Regions from separate parts of the Homo sapiens genome. Here regions 2, 3 and 4 are each linked to region 1. The links are contacts of gene promoters, found by promoter capture Hi-C in human tissues and cell types (Jung and others, 2019). All regions are on one chromosome and are shown on one strand. The core of a region is centred on a gene start or on the middle of the fragment in contact, and the rest is flanking DNA. Distances in the headings are between cores, read along the strand shown.

What was found. Contacts are between HindIII fragments. The study calls those that stand out against the background at their distance.
Region 2: a fragment that was not itself captured here is called in contact with the fragment with the promoter of CHP2 in region 1 in 2 of the 25 tissues and cell types used here (H1 embryonic stem cells and dorsolateral prefrontal cortex).
Region 3: a contact is called between a fragment that was not itself captured here and the fragment with the promoter of CHP2 in region 1, in 3 of the 25 tissues and cell types used here (dorsolateral prefrontal cortex, mesendoderm cells and spleen).
Region 4: a fragment that was not itself captured here is called in contact with the fragment with the promoter of CHP2 in region 1 in 3 of the 25 tissues and cell types used here (liver, pancreas and spleen).

The regions. Positions count from the first base shown.
Region 1 is chr16:23,752,743-23,756,751 of GRCh38, forward strand. CHP2 (calcineurin like EF-hand protein 2) reads left to right here and starts at 2,284. Exons shown (of 7, transcript NM_022097.4): 1 at 2,284-2,374; 2 at 2,919-2,991; 3 at 3,105-3,185; 4 at 3,321-3,451; 5 at 3,646-3,707. The coding sequence starts at 2,308. RefSeq lists an enhancer at 2,172-2,817. The HindIII fragment of the contact is 8,876 bases long and covers 1-4,009 here.
Region 2 is chr16:23,983,131-23,987,139 of GRCh38, forward strand. The region is part of intron 2 of PRKCB (protein kinase C beta); the gene reads left to right. Among named protein-coding and RNA genes, the nearest start is that of PRKCB, 150 kb to the left of the region's middle. The HindIII fragment of the contact is 4,596 bases long and covers 1-4,009 here.
Region 3 is chr16:23,930,750-23,934,758 of GRCh38, forward strand. The region is part of intron 2 of PRKCB (protein kinase C beta); the gene reads left to right. Among named protein-coding and RNA genes, the nearest start is that of PRKCB, 97 kb to the left of the region's middle. The HindIII fragment of the contact is 4,393 bases long and covers 1-4,009 here.
Region 4 is chr16:23,884,660-23,888,668 of GRCh38, forward strand. The region is part of intron 2 of PRKCB (protein kinase C beta); the gene reads left to right. Among named protein-coding and RNA genes, the nearest start is that of PRKCB, 51 kb to the left of the region's middle. The HindIII fragment of the contact is 8,089 bases long and covers 1-4,009 here.

The DNA.
Region 1 (4,009 bases), core at 1,034-3,533:
GTGATTGCTGGGCTTCATTAGGGAGGAGTGTGGTTTCCCGCATGCTTAGTCTTTGGGGGGAGTCTGAAAGAGAATCAAGCATTCCTTATGCCAGTTGCTTAATCCTTGGGGGTATCTGAAAGAAGCAAGCACTTCTTAGATCAATATTTTCAAGACTTATCTGATGCAGGCCTCTGCCTGGGGCTGGAGGATAGACTGTTTCTTCAGCTTCTCTCTCTCCAGGGTGGATATGAACTTGAGCCCTTGCAATGAACTGCTTGCATGTTTTCCCCCCTGGGAAATTTGTGTATGTATGTGCAATTATGATGGGGGAAACGGTTTAAAGATACTTTCAAAAGTGGACACTTCTAGTGTTTGTCCCTTGACAAATGAGTTTCTCGACCTGTTTTTTTTTCATTATCAACGCCTCCCCTAGTCTTTTTAATTTCCCCACCCTCACCCCTACCCCATGAAATTTTATTTTCTTTCTTTTTTTTTTTTTGAGACCAAGTTTCGATCTTTTTGCCCAAGATGGTGTGCAATGGCGCGATCTAGGCTCACCTCAATCTCCACCTCCCGGGTTCAAGCGATTCTCCTGCCTCAGCCTCCCGAGTAGCTGGAATTACAGGCATGCACCACCACGCCCAGCTAATTTTGTATTTTTAGTAGAGACTGGGTTTCTCCATGTTGGTCAGTCTGGTCTCAAACTCCTGACCTCAGGTGATCCGCCCGTCTCGACCTCCCAAAGTGCTGGGATTACAGGCATAAGCCACCGCGCCCGGCCTCTTTTCTTTTCAAGACAGGGTCTCACTCTGTCACCCAGGCTGGAGTGTAATGGCGTGATCATGGCTCCCTGCAGCCTCAACCTCCTGGGCTCAAGTGATCCTCCTGTCTCAGACTCCCAAGTAGCTGAGACTACAGGCATGTGCCACGACACCTGGTTAATTTTTTTTTTTTGTATTCTTTTGTAGAGATGGGGTCTCACTATGTTGCCTAGGCTGGTCTTGAGCTCCTGGGCTCAAGCAATCCTCCTGCCTCTACCTCCCAAAGTGCTGGGATTACAGGCATGAGCCTCCACGTCTGCCCTGAAATTTCAATATCACAGCTATACTGTATATCTATTTATGTGCTGTATGTATGCTGTGCTTTGTACATAAAAAATATGTTTTATTTTTTGCCCCGTTGGGGTGAGATAGAGACCGCACTGAGAATGCACGCTTTACATAATTAGTTCACAACTTGCCCCCGGCAGCCTCCACCACGTAAAATTAGAAGAAAGCAGCCCAGCAGGGCCTACAAGGAATGTGTGAACGGATGCACGTAAAGTGCTTAGCAAAGCGTGGTAAACAAGAGCCCTTGTTGTCATTCTTGCTTTAAGCCTAGTCCCAGTGATGTCTGTAACCCTCTCTTGGGCCAAGGAGTCCCATGGCTCTGGAGGGCTGTTCAGAGGACTAAGTCATTCCCAGTCTGGAGCTCTACGGGATCAGTAGGTACCTAAGGGAGTGAATTGGGCTTGGAGGGACTGTGGCCAGAAGACAGCTCTGGGCCTGGTGGTGATAGAACTTCTGATTTCTCAGGAAAAGCCAAGAATGTGGATTTTGGGTTAAATCTCCTGAATTTTAAGCATTGGCTCAATTAAACAACAATAAGGCAATGTGAACCGAACAAAAGGGATGAAACCAAGATTTACTGACTTTCCCAGAGTCACGGGCACGGCTGGGATTCCAACAAGGACTCCCAAACCAGTGCTCTTTCCACTTAACCTAACGCACACCCTTCATCTCGCCGCCCCTCCCCACTTCCCCGTCTTTGGGAGTTCTTCGATGCCTCTTCCCCCCTCCCCCCAGGATTCCCTCCCCATAGGCCACCCGCCTTCCAGCAGGGCGTGGTCTCTACAGAGGAGGTCAGGTCTCCCAGGCTTCCTCAGCGTCGACGCCGGGGAGCGCCCTGGGGTTGGGAGCGCCCGGGGCCCGCGAAGGAGGAGGTGGCTCAGGTGTCAGGGCGCACCGTGGGAACCGGCCCCGGGGGAGGCGTGGAAACGCGGGGCCTGGGACTCGACCAGCCTCTCCCGTGCGGATCGCAAAATCTCGGAGCTGAAACAGCCCGTTGTTCGCAGCCTCCCTCTGACCCGCCACCCTGCACATTGTTTTCCATTCGCCCGGGTCGCGGGTGGGAGGAGAGGCACGCCGGGGTTCTGGAGCTTGGCCGCGCGCCAGGCTTGTGGCCTTCGTCCCCCTGGGGCCACTGGGGCGGCCACGCCTCTCCGGCGGGAGGAGAGAACGCGTGGGTCCGGGTGGCTGCTCCGGCCCTTCCGCCTCCAGCTCGGCCATGGGGTCGCGCAGCTCCCACGCCGCGGTCATTCCCGACGGGGACAGTATTCGGCGAGAGACCGGCTGTGAGTGCGCCCGCGTCGGCGGCTGCGGAGGGGACGGGGCGAACCCAGGCGTCTGGGGCTAGGGAAGGGGTTGGGTTGAAGGATGGACGAACTTACAAGTCTGGGGTCCGGGGCTCCCCGGAGCTGGAAGACCAAGGCCCCTGTGCCTGGGATCGCTGGGTTAGGGGCGGGTTAACCTAGGGGTCCCAGCCTCCAAGTCTGGGGAGGATCCGGGTTCACGGGGTCGGAGTCCAGAGGAATCCAGGCACCCAGGTGTCCTCCAGCCCGGCTCGAAGCTGAAGGCAGAGCTGACGGCGGTTGGAAGGGATGGCTTTGGTTCTTTGGTTTTCGGGAGGTTGCGAGCCGCCCGGGTCTTGAACCTGGATCTTCGCGGGGTCGTGTCACTCTCCCTCCGCCCCGGCCAGCTCAACCCCTGATTCCCCGGGATGATCGCCCCTTCCAGCCAGCCCCCGCTGTTCTGGCCCATCTTCCTGGCCTGTTGGGGCGGGTTTCTGGAGCTGGCCCTGCAGAGTCACACACCCCCACCCCACTCTCCTTCCCGCAGTCTCCCAAGCCAGCCTGCTCCGCCTGCACCACCGGTTCCGGGCACTGGACAGGAATAAGAAGGGCTACCTGAGGTGAGGGGGAGCCGGCCTCATAACTTCTGGCCTCTGTCTCTCTGACTCCATGTCCCTCTTTGACCCTCCGTCTGGCATCTCTGCCTTACCCTCTTTGAAATTTGGCTTTGCAGCCGCATGGATCTCCAGCAGATAGGGGCGCTCGCCGTGAACCCCCTGGGAGACCGAATTATAGAAAGCTTCTTCCCCGATGGGTGAGGCTTGCTGGGCGTGGGGAGGTGAAGGCGGGAAAACCGGTGTGTGAGTGGGTGGGAGGGGAGGTTAGAGACGGAGGCAAAGTGATGGCCAAGGTGACCACCACCTCTTTCCATTCTGTCCCGTCTCCCCAGGAGCCAGCGAGTGGATTTCCCAGGCTTTGTCAGGGTCTTGGCTCATTTTCGCCCTGTAGAAGATGAGGACACAGAAACCCAAGACCCCAAGAAACCTGAACCTCTCAACAGCAGAAGGAACAAACTTCACTGTGAGTTTGTGAGGACCTGCACAAGTGAGAATGCAGATGTACCCACACCAGGGACAGGCTCCAGGGATCTCCCACTCCCTTCCTGAGGGCATTGACAACCTCCCCCCTCCTCCAAGGTGGGGGGAAGGAAGGTGGCTGCTGGAAGAGAGCCAGGGAAGACCTACCTTCCTTTCCCCCTCCCACCCTCTCCCCAGATGCATTTCAGCTCTATGACCTGGATCGCGATGGGAAGATCTCCAGGCATGAGATGCTGCAGGTTGGCAGAAAGCGAGAGCAAGAGATGTGATGTGTGAAGGATGGGATGGTTAAATGCAATGGTGTGAGAGATGGGGTGGGATGATTGGGGAACTGGGGCGCAGATAATTGGGGTATTGGTTGGGAAATGGGAATGGGTGCAGTTAGAGTGTGGGTTTGTTGGGAGTCGGAGTGGGGAGCAGTTGACTATGAGGTTGGGAATAGATCAGTGATTCTCAACTGGGGGTGATTTTGCTCCCTGAGTGAATATCTGGCAATATCTGGAGATGCTTTTTGTTGTCACAATGGGGGAGAGAGTGTGCT
Region 2 (4,009 bases), core at 494-2,993, 230 kb after region 1:
AAAACAAAAACTGGTCTTACTCTGAATTTGCCAAATAGAAATGAGGGGGCGTTTATTTGTGTCACAAAAGGATTTGATTTCTTTAAATAGGCAGCCCTACTATTTTCTTCAAAGTGTTTTAGTTAATGGGAAATTTGATTTGCACAACTTTTCAGAAACACACTGTGTAAAGGAATTACCTGCACCAGAAGCTCATGAGGTTTTTCAAAGTCTGTTCTCAGCTTCTCTGCACATCATGCTGGGGTTCACTTGGCCTATTGATTCTGCCTCAGTGGGGATGGACTATTCATTTCTGTGGGTAATTGGAAGCCTACCTAAAGTGACCTTGTCAATGGTTGGATTGACAAATATCCAGGCTGGTGGGATGTCAGGCGATCATCCAGGAGCTACATCTACCATGAAGTTGGTTATGTTTTCTCCTTTTTCTATGACTGATGATATTCATTTTTTGGTTCATTCATTCACCAAACATTTATTTACTGAATATCAATTATGTACCAGGAATTGTGGTAGACACTAGGAGACTAGAGATGAGCTATCTTTATCCCCTTCTGTCTCCAAAGGGGATAAAGATGAATAAGATAATAATTGATTTTTTTTTTTGAGACAGAGTCTCGCTCTGTCTCTTAGGCTGGAGTGCAGTGGCGTGATCTCGGCTCACTGCAGCCTCTGCCTCCCTGGTTCCAGTGATTCTCCTGCCTCAGTCTCCTGGGTAGCTGGGATTACCGGGGCCTGCCACCACACTTTGCTAATTTTTGTATTTTTTGTAGAGAATAACTGATATTTTAGATGTTTGGAAGAAAGGTTGTAGAATAAAGCACCTACTTGAAAATGGGGGAAACTACTTTCCTAAATATTTCTGGGTCAAAGAATAAATTAAAACCATACTAATAGACCACTTAGAAACTTGATACAATGATGGGACTAAATATAAAACATAGGATGCAGCCAAAACTGTACTTAAAAGAGGGTTTTTAGCCATAACATCTTTAAATGTTTAATGAAGAGGAATGGGAATAAATTAATTGAGCAGTCAATTCAAGAAGCTTTAAAAAGAACAGTGGATAATATTAGCTGACATTTGTAGAATAGTCATGATATGGTTGGCATGGTTCTGGGCATGGAATAACTCATTTAGTTCTGACAACACCACTGTGATATGGGTCCTATTGTTGCTGTCATTTTCCAGAGAGGAAACTGAAGTACAGGAAGATGAGGTAGTGTACCTAGTCTTAGAGTTTGCAAATGATAGACACAGGATATACACCTGATCATCAGACTCCAGAATTCACATTCCCAACCAATAAGTAATACAAATACAAGTAAGCAATACAATCACAGACACACAGAACAAAAAAAGTTAAAGTAGCAATTAATAAAGTAGGCTAAAACCAGGTAGAGTTGATAAATATAATCATAATCTGCTTCTTTAACATGATAGAAAGATAAAAATAGACAAGAAAGAACACAAACTTCTGGAAAAAAAATAACGAGAGACTACCTAACAATGCAATATGAAGAAAGAAACAAAGAAAGAGAAAAGGTGTAATATCATCCCAGATAAGATGCTACAATTTAAACACGTTGAGAAGAACACTGTGGATAATTTCCAAGGAAAATATAAATTCCAAAAGTTTGTTTGAGTAGAGGTGAAAAACTTTCCTGTGTGGTTGAAGTGTAGAGAGGGAGAGGGAGGTGAAGCTGGGGAAAGCTCAGGGATGGGGCGAGACTATGCTGTCATCCCTTTACTTTCATGTTGAATAAAAGGGAAAGTTAAACATGGAACTACGACAGGGGGAAAAGAGAGAATAATAAAAATATTATTTGGGGTAATACGGTTTTCTATCTGGAAAACTCAAAGGAAGCAACTAAAACTCCACAAAAGCTATTTGAGTTTTTTTAAAAAATGCTTTAAAATAAATATGCTAACAATCTATTGCTTTCCTATTGTTTTTGTTTGTTTGTTTGTTTTGTGTTTTGAGATGGAGTCTCGCTCTGTTGCCCAGGCTGGAGTGCAGTGGCATGATATTGGCTCACTTCAACCTCCGCCTCCTGGGTTCAAGCAATCTACTGCCTCAGCCTTCCAAGTACCTGGGACTACTACAGGCACCTACCACCACGCCCAGCTAATTTTTTTTGTATTTTTAATAGAGACGGGGTTTCACCATGTTGGCCAGGCTGGTCTCGAACTTCTGGCCTCAAGTGATCTGCCTGCCTCAGTCTCCCAAAGTGCTAGGATTACAGGCATGAACCACTGCGCACAGCTATTTGCTTTCCTATTTTTAAACAATGACCAGTTGGGAAACAAAATGAAGACATGTCAAATTTACAATAGCATAAAAAAGAATCCCTTAGATGATGCTAAAGGGAAAATGTGTAGGACTTATATGGAGAAAATAAGAGTTCAACAAGGGGACAATCATTTCCTGATGGAAAGACTCATTGTTGTCAAGGCATCAATTATCTTGAATTTAATTTCTAAATTTAACACAATTTCAATCAAAGTCCCAATCATTTTTTGGAGGCTGAGGGTTGACTGAATACAATCCCAATAAAAATTCCATTGGTATTTTTAAAATCTTGATAAACTGATTCTAAAGTTTACTTGGAAGAATAAATATGCAGTGATAGCCAAGAAAATGTTGAAAATAAGGATAATGAGGGTGGACTTGCCCTGCCAAGATATAACATATTACAGAGCTACTATAATTAAAGCCCATATTGCTATACTAGAAGACAGATCAGTGGCACAGAATAGAAGGCCCAAAGACAGACCCCAGTATATATAATTATTAAACATATAATAAAGTTGGCATTTGAAATCAGTGGGGAAGGGATGAATTATTCAATAAAGGATGCTGGGACAATTGGTTACCTCTTTGGAAAAAAATGGCAAATTGGATTCCCATTTCACATCAGATTCCAAGAAATTAGACATGGATCAAAGAGTTTAAAGTGGAAATGATGCCATATAAAAGTACAAAAAAACTCCAAAGAGTAATATTTATATGACCTTGGAGCATGAAGAAGGCTGTTTGAGGTGTACTTGGACTGTCTTTCTTTGTCCAGTTTTCCCTTTTAGTGGTTTAAAAGGAATACATAGTAGTTTTTATATTTTTATTTATTTATGTATTTATTTTTGAAACAGGGTCTCATTAGGTCACCCAGGCTGGAGTGCAGTGGTGCAGTCATGGCTCACTGCAGCCCCAACTTCCTGGGCTCAAGCGATCCTCCCACCTCAGCCTCCGGAGTAGCTGGACTGCAGGCATGCACCACCATGTCTGGCTAATCTTTTATTTTTTGTAGAGATGGGGTCTCACTATGTTGCCCAGGTTGGTCTTAAACTCCTGGGCTCAAGTGATCCTCCTGCCTTGGTGTCCCAAAGTGCTGGGATTACAGATGTGAGCCACCACACCCGGTTTCTATTCTTATTTTTAATACTTAATTGTTAACACGTATATTTAAACTTATAATGTCCTATATGCAATTTCTCAATATCAATAATCTTTTGAGGAATATAAGACTCAGCACATTTTCATCTTGTAACCCTCCTGCAACTCCCATTTCTTATGACTTGGGTTTTCTCTACTTCTCTATCTCTTCCTCTGTTGAAAACTTTTCATATTATGGAAAAAATTAAACATATATAAAAGTAACATTAGTATAATGCATCCTTGTGTATGCATCACCCAGTTCAATAATGACCCATCATGATCAATTTCTTTTTCATCTGTAATCCTCCCCTTTCTCTCCCCACCTTGGCATACTGAATTATTTTAAATTATTTTATCCATAAAGATGTTAATGTATCCTCAAAGATAAGGATTCTATAAGCAAAGAAAAACAAGACCATTATCACACCAAATATTTTTCATTCCCTAATATCAGTAACAATAATTCCCTTATGTCATCAGAAAGTGAGTATATCCATTTCCCTGATTGCCTTACAGTTTTTTAAACTGTTGGTTTTTTTCCACTTAGAATCCAAACAAGGTCCACATGTTAAATT
Region 3 (4,009 bases), core at 752-3,251, 180 kb after region 1:
TGGATTAATACATGTAAAGCTCTTAGTGCAATACACGACACATAGATAACATTTAATTTTATTATCGTTACTGTTGGGTAGCACTCAGTTCATGAAATTCCCACACACAGTCAAGTGGTAAATGCTATTACTTTGTAAATATCATCGATGAGGAACCTGAAGCTCACAGAGGTTGATGACTTGCCTAGGATCGCTCAGAAAGCAGGCAGCAGAGCTGATTGCCATGGTAACCATTTCCAAGCTTCAGTGCCCAGAGATGGACCCAGTCTGGCATGGGCTTATCCCCTGGAGCACTGTGAGTGTCTTGACAGATAAGTAAAGGAAGTCTTTAATTTCTGAAAAATGCCCAGCTGTGATTGGCATTGTTAGGGGTCAGTGAAGACACGCTCAAAGACCTTACTGTCCAGCTTTTTTATCTTTCACCTTTAATGCCGCTGTTAGCCCCAGGAGCTAACCAAAGGGGAGTTTTCTTTATCAGTTCCAAGAGGGATGCCATGGTTGTCCCAAGATTCTGGAGCTAAAGGTGGGACCAGGACCAGAATTCAGTTTCTGTGTTTCCAAATTCAGTTCTATTCTCCTCTCAGTAGACCAGGAGGCCTCCAGACAAGACAGATGGCAGACAGCTACAGTAGTTTAAAATAGCCTGAGCTCACTTCTGAGGTAGACATGTGCGTGGAGTGAGCTGGAAGACAGGGACCCCTGTGTGGGAAAGATTTTGGCAAAGAGAAGCCCAGTGGGGAGTTCTGATGCTAGGCTGAGTGTCATCAGGTTGGGGTGAGGGTGTGAGAAGAGACCTGAGCAGGTGCCAACCTGAGGCTGAGTGGGGAGGAGAGAAGCGAGAGGACAGGTGCCAGGCAAGATGCGGCACTGCCAATCAGTAGAAGCTTCCTCCCTCCTTTCCAGCTGTGCTACCGAGACGGGGAGGTCAGGTGGTCGTTCTGGGAGGGCTGGTGCCTTTTACTTCCCGGCCTTCTGGCCTGCTGGGTCTTGGAGTCCAGTGCAAAATAATGAAGTTCCTATAAAGACAGTTTGTATAGATCCTTTTAGGATGACTTGAAAGCCTATGCATTTCCTTAACAATGATCAATTCTTGGCTAATCCTCTTTCATCCATATCCGCACCCAATGCTTTTCACTCCATTTCCATACTGGATGTTTTGAAATAAATCCCAGACACCATATAATTTCAGTAATTATCAATCTCAATATCACAGAAAGTCAAATAGACATTATATATCTTCTAATATGATGCAAATAGAAGTGGCCAATGCTATCTATGCAATATTATTACTAAAGATCTAACCAAATTTACAGGAAATACAGAGAATATGTAGGAAATTCTACATAGAAATAACTTGATTTCTTCACGAAACCAATGGCATGGAAGTGTGAAAAAAATAGAATTAAAAGATATAGCAATCTAAGATAGTGTGTGGACCTCATTTGGAAATAAATTCAAACAAATCATCCATAAAGAAAACATTGTGAGATAATCAAGGAGAAGGAAACATTAACTGAAATATAAAATGATAATAAAGAATTGTTATTGCTTTTACTGGGTGGGATAATGGAATTGTGGTTGCTTTTTTGTTGTTCTTATCTGTGGAGATATGCTGAAGAATTTATGGGTAAAATAAAACTAAGCGATGCTAGGTGGGGAGGAACCTATGCATTTCCTATTTTTTGGCAAAAAGGCCCCAAGGTGTAGTCCCTAGCACCTATGTTCGAACAATGTGACCCAGCATTCCTGCTGATCCCTGACTGAACCAGGTATGGCTCCACTTGATCCTCTCTCTGGGGACTGGGAGTTAGCATTCAGAAATGCCAGCTAGCCTCCATCAACAGCAGACTGGAAGGATCAGGCATCTCAGGAATCATGCAATGTGCATCAAAAAATAGAGAAAGCTTATCTTCAGAGAGACAGACAAGTGAAGCTGGCTCAGAGGTCATGTGGACCAGAGGGATGGGGGAAGCAGTTGCCTTGGTTCCTGACAATCCTGCATTGAAGTCAAACTGCTGTTCCTTTCCCTGGTTTCTGTTTCCTTGTAACAGACTTATTCCTTTGCTTGAACTGGGGGCTTTTAGTGGGGTTCTGTTGCTTGCAAATCTTAAGTACTCTGAGAAACAGCTAAGGAGATGAAGATGGAAAACTTTGTCATGAAGGGAATGGGTTACTGGAATCTTTCTGGAGGGAGAATTTCAGAATTACGAGGATGCAGTTCTGATTGAAGGGGGTCTTGTGGGTATCTGGGATTTGGAAGTGAGAATGAATGCTGTAGCAGATGCTATTAGCTACCCATCCAATGGCGATTCCTTCTTTGTTTCTAGTTTTGTTCGGTGGCAATGTGCCCAGGGGACAGTGCATGCATGACCCATGATTATTTCCCTTTCAGTGATTGGTCTGGAAGTGGGCACTGGACCCAGTTTGGGTCATGTAGGAAAGACTCTTTCTTTTCATCCTTTCTTCCTGCTCTGGAGGCTGTTAGGTGAGGACATAATTGTTGGAGCTATGGCAGCCACATTATGACTATGAACAGGTGCCTAGATTTGTAGCAACACTGACTGAGAGCACTGTCATTCTTGAGACACTCATACCTCCTTCTTTCAGACTTTATTATTTTGGGGATGATATTTATTGATGAGCCCCTTTTGGTTAAGTTGCATATGGTTGGCTCTTCTGTTAATTCAAGCCAGAAGATTCTTAATTGATACAGTTAGGCTTCATAATTTGGAGGTTTGGGAGGAAAATGAGGTGAAAGAGCATGCATTGTTGGGGAAGATAATATTTTAAATCAGAAAATTAACATTTTCTACCAGAAGACCTTCAATTATTATATTATAGACTGGTTTGCAGAGCCTTTTGAGAGTGGTGTGAACTGATATCCATCCATCCATCCATCCATCCATCCATCCATCCATCCATCCATCATCTTCTGTTTGTTGATTTTCTATCCATCCATCCATTCATCCATCCATCTATCCATCCATCCATTCGTCCATCCATCTATCCATCTATCCACTCCATCCATCCATCCATCCATCCATCCATCCATCCATCCACCCATCCATCCATCTTCTGTTTGTCGATTTTCTATTCATCCATCCATCCATCCATCCATCCATCCATCCATCATCTTGTTTGTCAATTTTCTACCCATCCATCCATCCATCCTTCCATTCATCCATCCATCCATCCATCCATCCACCTACCTCATCCATCCATCCATCCATCCATCCATCCATCATCTTCTGTTTGTTGATTTTCTACCCACTCATCCATCCATCCATCCATCCATCCATCCATCCACCCATTTGACTTTCTTTTTACGAAACTTTCCCTTTGATCAATGGAGGATTTCCTTCCTGGACTTGCTTGGTTCTGTCTATTATCAGCTGGGTATAAAATGCTTTTCCTTCTTCAGTTAGGTCACGTGTAGAGAATTGATATTAGATAGCTATGGTGAGGAGTGAATGGGATTCTGCCTGGCCTCTCTCTAGGGACACTTTGCCTTCTGCAGTGTCTGGCATTTCTAAGAAACGTTGATTTTTAGGCATTGAGGAAAAAAGCTGTTTTTTTTTTTTTTTTTTGACATTAAAAGCTCTAGTTTTCCCTTATTTTATTCCCTGGAGCTTCTTTCAACATATTCAAGCACTGTTGGCTTCAGGCGTGGCTTTGTGGGCTGGAAAGGGCCAGGGTATGTTTTCAGAGGAATCCTGTGGGATTGAATTAGGAATGCTGCCTTCAGGGGATAAGTATTATTTTAATAGGAAGATATTCTTTATTTTTTGATTCTTAGGAATTGCTGTTTCTCATGTAGATGTACTTACCTTTGTTACATTAATAAGTTCCATAAAATATTTTCAGCGTATAGAATTTTTATATATCTAGACCATTGTCTGTTTCAGGTTAGGAATTGTCAGTGTTTATACGTGCGCCTAATCCCTTGTAGTCTGTTCGTTACTGGGATGGTGGTGATGGGGGCACTAGAGGGTGGAATTTGCGCACATGG
Region 4 (4,009 bases), core at 514-3,013, 130 kb after region 1:
AAGTAGCTGGGACTACAGGAACACACCACCATGCCTGGCTAATTTTTTTATTTTTATTTTTTGTAGCTGCAAGGTCTCACTGTGTTGCCCAGACTGGTCTCAAACTCCTGGACTCAAGCAGTCCTCCCACCTCAGCCTCCCAAAGTGCTAGGATGACAGGTGTGAGCCACAATGCCTAGCCCATATCTCCTTTTCTTTTGTGGCATTCTAGTAGCCCTTTGGTTCATGCGATCATTTAGTTGTTCAGCAAATATGGATGATTGAATGGATATAATAGGTGCAGGGCACTCCCAGGTTCTCAAGATGGATGATCTTGGGCAAGTTATTTAATTTCTCTGGATTTTAGTTTCCTTGCCAGCAAACTCAAGATAATAGTAATGCCTACTTTTAAGTAGTTATTGTGAAGATTATAAGGAATTAACAATAACGATAATAATAAGTAATAATGATACATGTTGTTTATTAGAGCCTGCTATATGCCAGACACTAACTCTATGATTTAACCTTCTCCTGCTACCCTTTACTCTTATTATTTCTTTAGGAGTGAAATTCACTAATCATTAAGCTTTTTAACTAACTGAATCAATTCTGTTTCTTAAGCAGATGGGAGATCCTGTGGCTTTTTACCACTATCCACAGCTCTTTTTTTCTTTTTCTTTTCTTTTTTGAGACGGAGTCTTGCTCTGTCACCCAGGCTGGAGTGCAGTGGCATGATCTCGGCTCACTGCAGTCTCCGCCTCCCTAGTTCAAGCCATTCTCCTGCCTCAGCCTCCCGAGTAGCTGAGGTTATAGGCGCCCGCCACCACGCCCAGCTAATTTTTGTATTTTTAGTAGAGATGGGGTTTCACCATCTTGGCCAGGCTGGTCTCAAACTCCTGACCTAGTGATCTACCTGCCTTGGCCTCCCAAAGTGCTGGGATTACAGGCATGAGCCACTGTGCCTGGCCTATCCACAGCTGGTTTCCCCTCTTTGCCCCCTTTTCTGGCATTCTCTTCTGATTCACTCTCAACTCTGATTTCCAAGCTACCCAGCTCCTTCCCCTAGTGTGAATCTGTATTTGCACTGGATTTATTTTTAAATGGGAAATGAAAGCCACTGTGTGCTGGAAAATATATATTTCAGACACGAGGAAGCTGGCGGGGAAATATTTTTTGGATGTCTTTCTAGATCTCTTAAAAATCCTGTGAGCCATCACCAGGTTGATCTTGTAGTAAGGTGGCCTTGGCCTTAGTGTATTTCTTTTTGACTCGATATTGGGCGGCAGGAGGTTTGAGGATTGTGATACTAACAACATTAACAACAACAAACTTTCATTGATTGATTGCCATGTGCTGGAAATGTGCTAATAAATTACATTTATTTTCTCTTTGAATCCTCAAACCAACTCTTTGAGACAAGTGTGTTGTATTACAGCTGTAGAAACTGAGGTCCTAAGAGGTCAGTAGATTTGCTGAAGGTCACAGAGCTGAGATCCAAATCTAAGCATCACAGCAAGAAGTATCCTTAACCATCATCTTTGCTGTTGGTTGGCATTAGTCTGGCTGTGCTAAGAAAGTTTCCTTTGACTTGCAGATGGATCAAGGCTTTTCTTGAGAGAGGCTTCTCTTGCCTGGTTCTCCTTGATTCTTTTACTCTAGGAGACTCAGTTCTTCTCAAATCCCTGTCTGTGGGACTTTGGGCAAAACATTCAACGTCATCTTTACCTCTTAGAGTCACTGCGAGGGTTGGACTATGGTGTGTTAGGTGTTTTTTTTTTTTTTTTTTTTTTTTTTGATGAAGTCTCACTCTGTCGCCCAGGCTGGAGTGCAATGGCATGATCTTGGCTCACTGCAACCTCCGCCTCCTGGGTTCAACCGATTCTTCTGCCTCAGCCTCCTGAGTAGCTGGGATTACAGGCACGCACCACCACGCCTGACTAATTTTTGTATTTTTAGTAGAGACGAGGTTTCACTATGTTGGCCAGGCTGGTCTCGAACTCCTGACCTCAAGTGATCGGCCTGCCTTGGCCTCCCGAAGTGCTGGGATTACAGGCGTGAGCCACCGTGCCCAGCCGTGTTATGAGTTGAACAGATTTCTTGGCTTCAGCAGGGGCTCAGTATGGGCCTATCATCATTTTCATTTATCTCCTTTTATGCCTCATGCTCTATCTGTCCCCTTCATCTCTGCCTGTAGCAGCCACAGACCCTCTCTTTCCTTGGTGCATGTCCCTCCTTCCCACTTTCCTAATTTCAGCCTGACTTAGTTCTCTACCTGTCAGCTTGGACTTAAGGAAAGGAAGTTCTCTTTTCTTGGGGGGTCACTGGGGCCATGGGCGTCTTTCCACTCCATTTCTTTTCCAAAGCTGCCTCTGGAACGAATCTGTAAATCCCAGGGCATTGCATGAGTTTTCTTTTCTTTCTTTCCTTCTTTCTTTCTCTCTCTTTCTTTCCTTCTTGCTTTCTTGCTTTCTTTCTTGCTTTCTTGCTTTCTGTCACTGAAAGCAAATATTGTAGACAGATATGCTTGTAGGATAGAAATAAAATGCCCCATTCTTTGAAACATATTTTGTTTTTTATTTTAGATTCATGGAGTATGTGTGCAAGTTTGTCACATGGGTATATTGCGTGATGCTGAGGTTTAGGCAATGAACTTGTTACCCAAATAGTGAGCATAGTACCCAGTAGGTAGTTTTTAAACCGTTACCCCCTTCTCTCCCTCCTTTCCGAGTTCCCAGTGTCTGTTGTTTCCATATTTGTGTCTGTGTATACCCCTTGTTTAGCTTCCACTATAGGTGAGAACATGTGGTATTTGGTTTTCTGTTTTTCTGTGATAATTCACTTAGGATAATGGCCTTCAGCTGCATCCATGTTGCTGCAAAGGACATGATTTCATTTTTTTTATGGCTGTGTAGTATTCCATAGTGTATATGCACCACATTTTCTTTATCCAATCCATTGTTGATGGGCACCTAGGTGGATTCCATGTTTTTGCTGTTATGGACAGTGATGCAATAAACATGAGAGTGAAGGTGTCTTTTTGGTGGAATGATGTGTTTTCCTTTGGGTATATACCCAGTAATGGGAATGCTGGATTGAATGGCAATTCTATTTTTAGTTCTTTGAGAAGTCTCTAAACTGCTTCCCAGAGGGGCTGAACTAATTTACAATTTCACCAACAGTGTAAGAGCGTCCTTTTTTCTCCGTAATCTCACCAAGGCACTGCATAAGCTATCTGAGTGGCCAGCAGGCAGAATGCTTGAAGGATTCTCCAGCTGGGGGTGCTGGGCCCAAAGGCTGGCAGCTGTATGGTCCTGGCCTTTTTCTCTCCAGCAGGGTCCCCATGATCTTCCCAGGTCTAGTTTTTTCTTGAGCACACCTGCATCTGACAGTTAATTGCAAGAATCTGACTTGCTGAACTCTCATTTCTCCCTCCTCCTTTAGCGCATCAAGTCCCCTTCTTTGTTTTCCCAGCTTGGTTCTTGCAAGGACTACCTAGAGGAGGACTTCAGGCAATCCCTTTCTCCCTGGTGGGCTGCTGTGTTCTCACCAATAAATCAATGCTCTCTCTAGTTTCAGGCTGCCTCTTAGGACAGATGCTGATACCAAGTGACTTTTGAGGTTGTTGAGTTGAGACACTTGGACCAAACAGCGGAAGGCACAGCTTGGCTCAGCTAAAGGAAGCTCCGTGAAAGCTCTCTGAGTGGGCCTATTGGCTCCATGAGTTGGCAGGCTGGCCCTCCTCTAGGAGATGGTGGGTCCTCATGGGCTGTAGCAGGGCCAGGCCACAGGAGCAGACTGCTGGAGGAGAACATTTAGGGCCATCTTCCTTGCTGCCTTTCTGTGATCTCTTCACCCAGGAAGCTGAATGCTGTTGGCAAGCAAAAGGGTGCTTGGTAACCATTTCTTTTTTAAGTGTGTGCTGGTGCCAGGGAGGGAGAAATCCTCAAAACCCATTGTGTCTGACTCAGGCACCACTGGTTTGGCCATAACCGCTAGTTTATCCTCCCTCCCTCTGCCACCCTCGTCATGT